Regions from separate parts of the Homo sapiens genome. Here region 2 is linked to region 1. The links are contacts of gene promoters, found by promoter capture Hi-C in blood cells and fetal thymus (Javierre and others, 2016). All regions are on one chromosome and are shown on one strand. Each heading gives the region's core, a stretch centred on a gene start or on the middle of the fragment in contact. The rest is flanking DNA. Distances are from core to core; before and after follow the strand shown.

Evidence for each region. Contacts are between HindIII fragments. The CHiCAGO score rates a contact against its expected background, and 5 or more counts as called.
Region 2: a contact is called between a fragment that was not itself captured here and the fragment with the promoter of VPS13D in region 1, in 2 of 17 cell types (neutrophils and M1 macrophages). The highest score is 5.7, in neutrophils.

The regions. Positions count from the first base shown.
Region 1 is chr1:12,228,503-12,231,822 of GRCh38, forward strand. It overlaps VPS13D (vacuolar protein sorting 13 homolog D), which reads left to right and starts at 1,528. Exons shown (of 70, transcript NM_015378.4): 1 at 1,528-1,618. RefSeq lists an enhancer at 1,277-2,207 and silencers at 1,353-1,882, 1,419-1,587. The HindIII fragment of the contact is 6,412 bases long and covers 1-3,320 here.
Region 2 is chr1:12,140,214-12,143,533 of GRCh38, forward strand. TNFRSF8 (TNF receptor superfamily member 8) reads left to right here. Exons shown (of 15, transcript NM_001243.5): 15 at 2,074-3,320. The coding sequence ends at 2,318. Among named protein-coding and RNA genes, the nearest start is that of MIR7846, 25 kb to the right of the region's middle. The HindIII fragment of the contact is 4,003 bases long and covers 1-3,320 here.

The DNA.
Region 1 (3,320 bases), core at 278-2,777:
TTGTAACCTTGCCGTTCTGCTTCCTGCATCTTCTAATTTATATGAGCCTGAGGTCTCCCTCTTGCCCTTCTTGTGATAATGCAAGGAGGAAGTGTTCAGCTGTTCATTCATACACACTCATTGAGTCTTTTCTGTGCTAGGCAATGTCTAGGTGTTGAAGAAACACTGTGAAAGGGATAAAATCTCTGTTTTCAAGGTACTGGGGAAAGAACAACATATGTATAAACAAACAAGATAATCTCAGGGAGTATTAGGTTCCATGAATAAAATACAACAGGGTAATGGATAATGGAACTTTATTTTTATTTTCATTTTTGAGAGGGAGTCTCACTCTGTCTGGAGTGCAGAGGGGTGATCTCGGCTGACTGCAACCTCCGCCTCCCGGGTTCAAGTGATTCTCCTGCCTCAGCTTCCCCAGTAGCTGGGACTACAGGTGTGCACTACCACGCCCGGCTAATTTTTGTAGTTTTAGTAGAGATGGGGTTTCACTATGTTGGCCAGGCTGGTCTCAAACTCCTGACTTCAGTGATCCGCCCGCCTCAGCCTCCTGAAGTGCTGGGATTACAGGCATGAGCCACTGTGCCCAGCTCATAATGGAACCGTAGATAGGCACAAGTCCTCTCTGAGTGGAATATTTGAAGCCAGAGGGAGTCAGCTATACGAATATCCAGAGCTATTCTGTAGCTCTGGATTGGCCACAAGAGGGTATTGAGCACTGGAATTCTGGCTAGTTTGTACTGAGATGCGCAGTAAATGTAAAATATACCCGAATTTCAAAAACTTACTATAAAAAAGTTAACATATTGTATTAGTAATTTTTTCTTTTGGCGACATGTTGAGATGATCATATTTTGAACATATTGGATTAAATATATTAAAATGAAGTTCATTTTCTTCTTTTTCGTTTAAAAAAAATGTACTAGCTAGTAAATGTGGATTGCCTATGTGGCTGGCATTGTGTTTCTATTGGTCTGAGGAGAAGGGTCCTAGGTAGAGACAACGGCAAAGGTACAGTTCCTGGGGCAGAAACTGAAGGATGCTGAGGCAGAGTCGGCCGGGGAAAAAGTGGCTGAAATGGGAAGGGACCAGATCCAGTGGGACCTTGGTGGCAGCTCTGTAAGGAGGTGGGTTTTAACTGAAGTACGGTGGGGACGCCGTTTTAAGCAGGGAAGGGCAGGGTCTGAATTAACAGGCCCCTGTGGCTGCGAAGTGGGGAACGGACTGTGGGTGAGTGGGCCAGACGGACGGCCAATCGCACCTTTCGCTTGGATGGAAGGCAGGGTGGTTGTAGGTGGGAAGAATCCTGGGTTCCCATGCTGTCTGAACCAGAGTCATTTGTGGCCCTGCCCTCCCCTGGGACTCAATTTCCCCACCTATAAAATAAGCCCCAGTGTCCGCGAACCCTGGAGGGGCCCGCACCACTGCAGGAGCGGCCGCCGGCGCCAGGGGGCGCCTCCTCGATAACTCGGCGCTCGGCTGGCCAGGCACCGGCGCGTCGGCCGCTCGATTGGTCGGGTCGGGGCCGGCCTGAGCGCCGCGGGCCTGCGCCATTGAGGAGCGGCGGGGAGGAAACGCCGCGCAGCGCCGGGCTGGGGCGGGCGGCCCGGGACACCGACAGGTAGGGGCCGAGCGGCTCCGTGCCGGGCGGGGCCAGGGTCGGGAACTGCAGGGCCGGCGCGGACCCGCGGGCCGCCGCTAGGGCTCCGCCTGGACATGGGGGCCCGGGCCCACCCTGGGGAGAGCGATGCTAGGAGCCTGGGGGCCCCGTCGTCCGGCCTCGGTCTGAGCCCCTCGGGGTAACCCTGGGCGTCTGCTCCCCCCGGGCCCCAAGCCCGCCACCTCCGGGGACCCCTGCGTCCGAGTCCCCGCGAGCTCCCCAAGCACAGGCTCGGGGCTGGCTGAACCTCTGGGAACCCCGACGTCCGTGTCCTGGGGAGCCCGAGCCCCCGCTGGACCCCGGCACACTTTCCGGGGTCCCAGCAGCCTGGCGCCCTGGAATTGGGGGGTGTCAGTCCGCGCCTGTCCGCCTGAGCCTTGGTCTCAATGCAGGACCCCAGTGTGCGAGCCCCCCACATTACGCCGAAGAGTGGGGTGTCAGTTCTCTAGAATGCCTTAGCCACCTCCCTTAATCAGCCACCCGAGGTCACACTCTCGCGTGGAGACATCAGGCCTAAAACCTCTCTTTACCTTTTGCCCCCCAGGGTCACGCCCTGGCCCAGCCACTCCTCCTAGGTGTGGGATGCCAGACATCAGGCCTAAAACCTCTCTTTACCTTTTACCCCCCAGGGTCACGCCCTGGCCCAGCCACTCCTCCTAGGTATGGGATCCCGGCGCCGTTCCCTCCAGGTTTTACTTGGGTGGTGGGGTCTCTGTCCCCTGGAGGGGGCTGAGGGTTCCGAGAGCTGGGGGCGGGAGGGTTGTGGGAGCGTCGCCTTCCGGGCAGTGCCGTTCCTGTGGGGCCACCGGTCGCACAGCCGTCCCCGCCCCGGTTTTGGAGCTCCCTGGCGCCGGCAGCGTTCAGCCCTGGCCGCCTCGGGGAGGGACGCCCAGGTCCGGTTGCCAGTCCTTCCTATTCCCGGTCTGGCCGCTCCTCAGGGGAGGGGCCTGGCTCAAGGTCATGCCCGGCTGTCTGCCCGCCCGTGGGCTCAGCACTGATCCCTACTGTCACCCGCCCCACTGGGTAGGGGAGCCCAGGTGGGGGTTAGTGCCAGTGCCAGGCAGCTGCCTAGAAGTCCTGATGGACCGGAGTGTAAACACTTTGGGACTCTGGCCAGTCTGGCGGCCCTTGCTGACACTGAATTCCTTCAGGGAATCCTTGAAGTGGCCTCAAGCACGGTCTAGATGCTTAGCAGAGCAAATAATGGGTGCTTTCTGGTTTGGGCCTCAATGTTACTGACCAGGTTGCCTCACAATGCTAATCACTCATGCTTTTAAAATCTGTGCTTTGCATTCTTTTCCGTTTAGGGCAAGTAGGGTAGGGCCTGAACTTGTTTACAAACTGACAGTTGTTTCCCTTGATTTGGAGATAATTGGTAATTGGCACTCAGAGTTGGCATTTAGGGCCGAAATTAGTGGCAATAACTACAAAAATAAAGAGTACTCTGACCTTGGCTTCTTGCTCAAATTTGTTTGGAGTCCCCATAGTAAGATTAGTCAGTTTCACATTTGGTTTTCACAAATTTACTCCTTTCAAGTTATAATAGTGGCCGGGCACGGTGGCTCACGCCTGTAATCCCAGCACTTTGGGAGGCCAAAGTGGGCAGATCGCTTAAGGTCAGGATTTCAGACCAGCCTGGCCAACATGATGAAACCCTGTCTCT
Region 2 (3,320 bases), core at 500-2,999, 88 kb before region 1:
GGTGAGTGGATCGGGGGCCACCTCCGCCATGGTGGAAAGGGAAGGCCTTGGAGGTTCTCTTGGGCACCCAAGACACAGGCAACCCCCTTGTCCTCCTAATGCCAGCCCAGGGTAGCGTTCCCCCTTCCCATCCAGTTCCCAAGAGGGGTCACACTGGGGTCTGTACATCGTCCCTCTTCCCCTGGGAACCAGGCAAGGGAAGAACCCCTTTCCCCCCAACTTCCTCACCTGCCCTCCCCACATAGCCAAGATGAATTCCCTGGACTCTGGAGCTCTGGGGAGGGGGCAGGAAATCCATGCAGCCCTTGGAAGCCACCCCCACAGCCTGGGGAGTAGGCAGCCTGTGATGGGGGCAGAGCCAGAGCGGGGCAGACCCCTCATGGCCGGCTCTGAAGTTTCCAGACCCCTCTTTCACTTCCGAGCTCAGTGGGAGCTGCTTCCTCACCCAGAGCAGCCAATTCCACCGCTTTGAATCCAGTTAATTCCAGATTTCCTGGGGACTCCTGCCCATTTCCCTGAGGAATGTGAGGGGACCAGCCTGTCCCCAGCTGTGGCTCCTTCTCCCTAATCCAGCACCCCCACCCTCACTTCCCTCCCACCTGACCCCACCCGCCTCTCATCTTCTCTGCCCATCCCCCTCTGGGCCTTCTCTCCCCTCCTGGGGTCTCCTCTCTCACCACCCCCGGCCCCCATCTTTTGCCCAGCCCTCTATAGGGCTCCTAGGGCTGGGAGCCCACAAGCCTGATGGAGGTGTGGGGAGTGCTGAGGCCCTGCTCTGTTTTGGGGTCTGTGGGGGCGCCCAGCCCATAGCCTGTCCCGCACTCTGGGCCTTCTCCTCTTGCTGCCGTTTGGCGCACTTCTCTCTTTCCTGGGGGTGTTCAAAACCAGAATAGAAGAACCAGCGTCATGCAATAGGGTTGAGGGTGTGGGGGACTCGAGAACCTTTTTGGGGTTCCTGAATCCGAGGGGTATAACTGCATTACCCAGAAAGGCAGGGGTCCCTGCACCCCCACCCCACCCCAGCTCTCAAGTTCCCTCTTGAGCTTCCCCATTCTGGCCTCCAGAGTCCAGCGCAGAACAGCTGGGAGCCAGCCCACCCTGAGCCAGACACCATCAGCTGGGCGGAGGCCAGGCTTCCCCACTCCCCAGCTCCTCGGGCCACTGAACCTGAGCCCCCATGTCCCCTCTATCAGAAGGCCACACCAGAAGCCCCCACATCAGACTGTGGCGAGGACCGGCCCTCCGTCCAAGCTCCCACCATGTGCTCACAGCACAGCCATGCACGCTGCAGGCAGGAGACCGGCTGTGAGCAGTAAGCCCCGAAATTCACGGCCTGAGCCAGGCTGTCTCAATCATGGGCTGCCGAGACCTATTGAGGGGGCCGGGTTTTCTGCAGGATGTGACAGGCTGGCTGAGTTTGCCCGGACCGAGGGGACTCCCAGGACACGGGACTTGCAGTAGTAGAACCAGGAATGTTCCCGGGCAAGCTGGACAAGTTGGTCACCCCGGGTTTTGGCTGCAGGCACACAGATAGGAGCAGAAAGGGCCACCAGGCGGAGTGGGTGGTTTTTTTTTGGGGGATTTCTCCTAACTACGTGGCGACCTTGGGCAGGTCATTTAACCTCTCCAGGCTTCAGATTCTTACCTGTAAATGGGAATCTTGATGGGGTCCGCCTTGCAGGAGGGCTGGGGACCCAGGAGTGGGGGTGTGGAAACTGCTCAGCTCTGCTGTTTCTGCTCGTGCTCTGGTTACCCACGGCTTTGCCTGTTTTTGTCCACAGTTTGCTTTCTGTCCCACCCTGTCCTCTTCTTCCCTACCCATCCGCAGAGATGTGCTGAGAAAATCCTAAGTACAAGTGGGCTGGTTCTTAACTCCTCAAGGCCCAGCTCCTAGCTGTTCTATTTCCTCTGAGCCCCCAGGATGCCTGTAAGGTACATCAGAGAGGCTGTGCCATCAGCCTGAAGCCACCCGGCAGGTGTACCAGCACTGGGCCTCGGCCCTTCTCTGCCTCTTTGCTCCCATCCTGGCTGGTGCTCTGGCCTCCCTCGCTCACCCATCCTTTTGCCTTGCAGAGAAAATCTACATCATGAAGGCTGACACCGTGATCGTGGGGACCGTGAAGGCTGAGCTGCCGGAGGGCCGGGGCCTGGCGGGGCCAGCAGAGCCCGAGTTGGAGGAGGAGCTGGAGGCGGACCATACCCCCCACTACCCCGAGCAGGAGACAGAACCGCCTCTGGGCAGCTGCAGCGATGTCATGCTCTCAGTGGAAGAGGAAGGGAAAGAAGACCCCTTGCCCACAGCTGCCTCTGGAAAGTGAGGCCTGGGCTGGGCTGGGGCTAGGAGGGCAGCAGGGTGGCCTCTGGGAGGCCAGGATGGCACTGTTGGCACCGAGGTTGGGGGCAGAGGCCCATCTGGCCTGAACTGAGGCTCCAGCATCTAGTGGTGGACCGGCCGGTCACTGCAGGGGTCTGGTGGTCTCTGCTTGCATCCCCAACTTAGCTGTCCCCTGACCCAGAGCCTAGGGGATCCGGGGCTTGTACAGAAGAGACAGTCCAAGGGGACTGGATCCCAGCAGTGATGTTGGTTGAGGCAGCAAACAGATGGCAGGATGGGCACTGCCGAGAACAGCATTGGTCCCAGAGCCCTGGGCATCAGACCTTAACCACCAGGCCCACAGCCCAGCGAGGGAGAGGTCGTGAGGCCAGCTCCCGGGGCCCCTGTAACCCTACTCTCCTCTCTCCCTGGACCTCAGAGGTGACACCCATTGGGCCCTTCCGGCATGCCCCCAGTTACTGTAAATGTGGCCCCCAGTGGGCATGGAGCCAGTGCCTGTGGTTGTTTCTCCAGAGTCAAAAGGGAAGTCGAGGGATGGGGCGTCGTCAGCTGGCACTGTCTCTGCTGCAGCGGCCACACTGTACTCTGCACTGGTGTGAGGGCCCCTGCCTGGACTGTGGGACCCTCCTGGTGCTGCCCACCTTCCCTGTCCTGTAGCCCCCTCGGTGGGCCCAGGGCCTAGGGCCCAGGATCAAGTCACTCATCTCAGAATGTCCCCACCAATCCCCGCCACAGCAGGCGCCTCGGGTCCCAGATGTCTGCAGCCCTCAGCAGCTGCAGACCGCCCCTCACCAACCCAGAGAACCTGCTTTACTTTGCCCAGGGACTTCCTCCCCATGTGAACATGGGGAACTTCGGGCCCTGCCTGGAGTCCTTGACCGCTCTCTGTGGGCCCCACCCACTCTGTCCTGGGAAATGAAGAAGCATCTTCCTTAGGTCTGCCCTGCTTGCAAATCCACTAGCACCGACCCCACCACCTGGTTCC